Linked DNA regions of Homo sapiens: region 1 is linked to region 2. The links are contacts of gene promoters, found by promoter capture Hi-C in human tissues and cell types (Jung and others, 2019). All regions are on one chromosome and are shown on one strand. Each heading gives the region's core, a stretch centred on a gene start or on the middle of the fragment in contact. The rest is flanking DNA. Distances are from core to core; before and after follow the strand shown.

The links. The method cuts DNA at HindIII sites, captures the fragments that hold promoters and counts their contacts. A contact is called where the count stands out against the background at its distance.
Region 1: a fragment that was not itself captured here is called in contact with the fragment with the promoter of CCDC27 in region 2 in 2 of the 25 tissues and cell types used here (H1 embryonic stem cells and mesenchymal stem cells).

Annotation. Positions count from the first base shown.
Region 1 is chr1:3,645,500-3,648,199 of GRCh38, forward strand. WRAP73 (WD repeat containing, antisense to TP73) reads right to left here. Exons shown (of 12, transcript NM_017818.4): 2 at 1,909-2,061; 3 at 1,167-1,283. Among named protein-coding and RNA genes, the nearest start is that of WRAP73, 3.3 kb to the right of the region's middle. The HindIII fragment of the contact is 3,229 bases long and covers 1-2,700 here.
Region 2 is chr1:3,751,192-3,753,891 of GRCh38, forward strand. CCDC27 (coiled-coil domain containing 27) reads left to right here and starts at 1,259. Exons shown (of 12, transcript NM_152492.3): 1 at 1,259-1,608. The coding sequence starts at 1,291. The HindIII fragment of the contact is 11,219 bases long and covers 1-2,700 here.

The DNA of each region.
Region 1 (2,700 bases), core at 153-2,652, 110 kb before region 2:
CAGCGGGATGGGCGGGTTGCCCCGTGGTGTGCGCGGCGCAGCGGGATGGGCGGGTTACCGAGGTGCAGCCAGCAGCCCAGACAGCTATGAGCACTCAGTGGACTTGGGCCCAAACACTGGGATCCAACTCCATCAGAAAAGCACATTATTAAAGGAATTCGTCCATTTTTCTGTATCTTAAAAAGACACTGCGGACACCAAAGACCTGGTATCTAAACACTTGACATATGCCTAATTTTAACTTAAAATGCAGTCTCCTATCCCAGATCCCTCTGATTTATTCTCGGATGTCAACATTCCCCTCCGCGCTGAGCTCAGCACGGAGGCTGTTGTGCGGTACCTACAGCAGGTGAATGGGCGGCTGCCGACCGCCCCGAGCCACGCCCCCAGGCCAGGCTCCTGAAGGAAAGGTGCGAGCCGGCTCATATCACAGCGCATTTTCTATCGTTGAATTAAAGGGAGTGCCGAAATCCTAAAAAATCTAAATTAAGATTTTTAAAATGTTTTTTCTTCAAAACTGGACAAAAGATCAGACAATAATACTTAGTGGCTTATAATGCTCTGACCTAAAATATACACACCACTATATACGCTCCCCGGCTCCCTCCAACCCCGCCAATCTACCAGCCACTCGGGAGCCACCTCAGTCATCAGACCCAGGGCAGCAGACAGTGCCTGTGTTCACGACACCCTTATCTGACTCAGTAGCAGCCCAAAGCACGGGCGGTGGGGCTCGCAATCTGGATACGCCAAAGAGAAGCCACAAAGTGCTTCCTTTAAATGACGAGCTGAAAGTTCTTGACGCAACAAGGAAAGAAAAAATCCTATGCTGAGGTTGTTGCTCAGATCTTCAGTAAGACCAAATCTTCTATCCATGCAATTATAAACAGTATATTGTTATCCTTGTTCTATACTATGATTGTTGCTAATCTCTTACTGTATCTAATTTATAAATTAAATGTATCACAGGTATGCTGTATAGGAAAAAACACAGGAAATACAGGGTTTGGTACAATCTGAATCCCCTGGTGGTCTTAGAATGCATCCCCTGAGGATAAGGGGAGACTAGCATACTCCAAACACACCCCCTCTCGCACTCCCCAGCTGTTTCGAGAGCAGAGGACAGGATCACATGGCCAGTAAGGTGTCTTGGGGCTGACACTTACATGGAATTCCGTGGTGTTGAGAATGTGGCGCCCGTCCGGGCTCCAGCACGAGGCCACCAGCCCGGCTGAGCCCTCGTCTATTTTGCAGTGCCATTCGGGCTGCTCTAAAGACCAGACCTGGATTGAGAGAAGAAAGAAACACACAAGTGCAAACTCATCAGCACCGAGAGACAGCGAGGACAGCTCGCTTAAACGCAGCGGAGACCCGACCGCACAGGGTGTCTTCAAACTCATCAGCAGTCTATAGCGAGGCCTCGCCGAGAGACAACTCCCTTAAAACCAGCAGAGACCCGATCACACAGGGTGTCTTTTAGAACCTTTCATGATGAAGGGCTGGTGCTGGATTCCAGTGTAAAAGTAAGCCACGCTTCTTGGTGATTTCATTTCGTTGTTGTTTTAAAACTGTTTATTCACATTGTCATTCCTAAGACCTCATTTAGTTAAGCTTTGGACACAGAAGAAAACACGACTTCTTAGGACTTCCTGAAACACACCACATCCGCGTGGCTAGATTGCTGTCAACACCTCCGTTTCTCAACTATATTGCTTAGAAATTAAGACTACGTTGGAGTTTCCTTAGTTTAAATGTTCTTAAACTTTAGAGAACGTTATAATTTCAAAAGAAAACTGGCTTTGAGCTGCACGGACTTTTTTTTCAAACTAGAAAGGCACAGAACAAAACCCCTCCTTCCCAGGGGCCCTCAGAAGGTGTCCAGATTCTAAGCGACACGGCAGCACACACCTGCACCAGCCCTCGCTTGTACATGGCGCACAGGATGAAGAGCGAGTCTGCCGACCACTCGATGTGCTGGATCTGGTCTAGGCACGTGTACAGCTGAAGGATCTGAAGGGTGTTCACATCCCGGACCACTAACCGGTACTGGACACAGGAAGCCTAAAAAATATGAGAAAGCAAGCACCTGACATTCTCCACTCCAAAAGAGGGGGGCCTTCGGAATGCTACTGCCCTGGCCTTCAGTGACTGTGGCCTTCTCTCCTGCCAGAGGTTTCATGTCTAGATCACCAGTGACATCCCCAGCCCCTAAAGATCAGTTCAGTTCATACAAGGGTAATGTTGAAATATACAAGCCAGGTTTTAATATTGCTATACTCTATTGTAAAGTATAAAAGTATGTTTTAACTCGCTACTTAAAGCTTTAAGACATTTTTAAGTCCCTTCTTATCTGTATGTTAAAAACTAAACTTAAATGGGAAGTAGCATTGGGAGAAAGCTCTTCTGTGAACTAATAACCAAAATCCTCTGCTAGTTTTATAAACACTTTTGGACAATTTCCTCAAATTTATAAAGGGTAAGAATTGAGGCTTCACAGATGACAACGAAAATGGCAAGGAATGCATCAATCTTCTTATGCAGTGCCGAACTCAGAGCCAAAACAACAGAAGATCAAAAGACAGGCTTTCACTTCTGCACACATAAAGATGCTTCGCAAATGCTCATTTATCTCCATTAACCTATTCCTAACACGAAACGGGAAATGTTTAAGTGTTAGTACTATTTTCTTAAAGATAGTTT
Region 2 (2,700 bases), core at 9-2,508:
AGTAAAAACAGTGATCCATAAATACTGAGGGAACTCAGAGACCAGCGCCGATGCAGGTCCTTGCATGCTGAGTGTGCCGGTCCCCTGGGCTGACTGTTCTTTCTCTATACTTTGTCTCTGCGTCTTGTTTCTTTTCTCAGTCTCTCATCTCCACCTGAAGAGAAATACCCACAGGTGTGGATGGGGCAGGCCCCCTTCAAATTTCCTTCAGTCAGCAAGCAGAGAAGCCTTTCTTCCCATTCAGACCCTAATCAAGGCTTCTGAAGGTAGGGGTTTTGTCTTTCTCTCCTTAAAAGATGTCTTGAGGTAGGCATTTGAAGCCTGGAAAATCATTCCCAGGGAGTCAGGCTACTCTTATCTACTCTTCTAGGTATTTCTTGGCCAAATGTTTCTAATCCCAGAGCCCACCCCCTAAACCTTTTTTTTTTGAGATGGAGTCTCACTCTGTTGCCCAGGCTGGAGTGCTCTGGTGCGATCTCTGCTCACTGCAAGCTCCGCCTCCTGGGTTCACGCCATTCTCCTGCCTCAGCCTCCCAAGTAGCTGGGACTACAGGCGCCCGCCACCACGCCCGGCTCATTTTTTGTACTTTTAGTAGAGACGGGATTTCACTGTGTTAGCCAGGATGGTCTCGATCTCCTGACCTCGTGATCCGCCCACCTCGGCCTCCCAAAGTGCTGGGATTACAGGCATGAGCCACCGCACCCAGCCTAACCTTTTCTAATACAATTACTGTCTTCAAGCCAGCACATGGAGACATTTGAGCTGGACTCCTGTGTCCTTGGGAGCTGACTTTTCTTTTTTTCTTTTCTTTCTTTTTTTTTTTCTTTTTTTCTTTTTTCTTTTGGAGATAGGGTCTCACTCTGTAGTCCAGGCTGGAGTGCAGTGACGTGAACACAGCTCACTGCAACCTCGACCTCCCCAGGCTCAGGTGATCCTCTCATCTCAGCCTCCTGAGGAGCTGGGACTACAGGTGCACGCCACCATGCCTGGCTAATTAAAATGTTTAACTCCTGGGCTCAAGCATGCCTCCCACCTGGGCATCCCAAAGTGCTGGGATTACAGGTGTGAGCCACCACACCCAGCCCAGAAGGCAACCTTCAATATTGAGCTTTGCTCTTCTCAAAAACCTGGTGTCACAGCACTGGCCTCCAGCGCATCCAGCCGCGGGCCCCTTTTGCTCAATAACGGTTTCTATGGAGACATCTGTGATGCCACCACTGCTCCCAGGAGCCCACAGGACCTGGAGCTCTGGAAGCTGATCTCCTCCCACTGCACCAGCCAGCAGGTTCATGTTCGAGGCCATCTTCCCCTCCACACCCCAAGCCAGGCTGAAGAGAGATCCACGGGAAAAGCCGGGCCTGTCCTCATTCAGGTCCACATTCAGGCAACAAAGCTCACTTGGTCTTTGCATCCCACGCCTCATGTTACCTAAGGAGGCCAGCCCATCTCAGAGGCACAGTTCGATGTCCAGCTCGATGGCCAGGGCCCTGGTGCTCCTCCAGAGCATGGCCAGCCGGGACGCCCGGTGCCCAGAATGGAAACCGCACCAAAAGCCACGCACGCTCAGCAAGTCGGTCCAGACCATCAGCCGCTACTACAGGAAGACGGTATGGGGTCCCGGGAGGAGGGCTGCCACGAGCCTTGAGGTGACCTGTTTCTTCTCCTCCCCAAAGGCCCATAGAGCTGTCAGCCCACAAAGCATTCCACAGGCCTTCTGGTGATGGGTTACCAAAGGGGGATTCCAGGCAGGCAACGAATTGAGCGCTAGGGGTGGAAAGAGCCCTGCGGTCCTCTCCCTTTCTGAAGGGCCTGGTGCCTTAGTCCCCACATGCCACCGGCTTCTTCTGGGTTAGCTGCTTTGGGTTGGTCCTCCCCTCTTGCAGACCTTGGCTCCCGGTGTCTCTGGTTGGCCAAGGGGAGAAGATGTACAGTTTGCCCCAAGACTCCCAAGGTGCATCTTGAAAAGGAGAGTGAAGGGGAGAAAATGTGAAAGGGGACCTCAGCCAGTCAGGTACGCTGTGCCACCGTGTACTGGGGGAGCCCGAGATGGTCACCCCGGCTCCTGGCAGCTTCCTGGGTGAATGCATTGCCTGGACCTAGTGGACTATGGTTTCTTTTTTTCTTTTTCTTTTTTTTTTTTTTTTTTTTGAGACGGAGTTTCACTCTTGTCACCCGGGCTGGAGTGCAATGGCGCGATCTTGGCTCACCGCAACCTCCACCTCCTGGGTTCAAGTGATTCTCCAGCCTCAGCCTCCAGAGTAGCTGGGATTACAATGTGCCACCTTGCCCGGCTAATTTTATTTGTTTGTTTGTTTGTATTTTTAATAGAGATGGGGTTTCTCCATGTTGGTCAGGCTGGTCTCAAACTCCCAACCTCATGTGATCTGCCCGCCTTGGCCTCCCAAAGTGCTGGGATTACAGGCATGAGCCACCATGCCCGGCTGGACTATGGTTTCCAAAGTGGGTCTGCGTGGCTCTTGCTGAGCATCCAGTGTGCTGGAGAGGGGACAGAGGGGACACACTGCTGCAGCCTGCACACACGCAGGCCCTTTCAACCCCAGTGGGAGAGTGGCTTAGTGCCTGTGACCAGCAGCATGTGTGGGTGGGGTCGGGGGGCCTGTCTGTGAATCTCAGCCGACAGTCAGGCAGAAGCAGGGCCCCCGTCTGTCTAGGCTTCAGGATGCCTAAGAAGCTCTCGG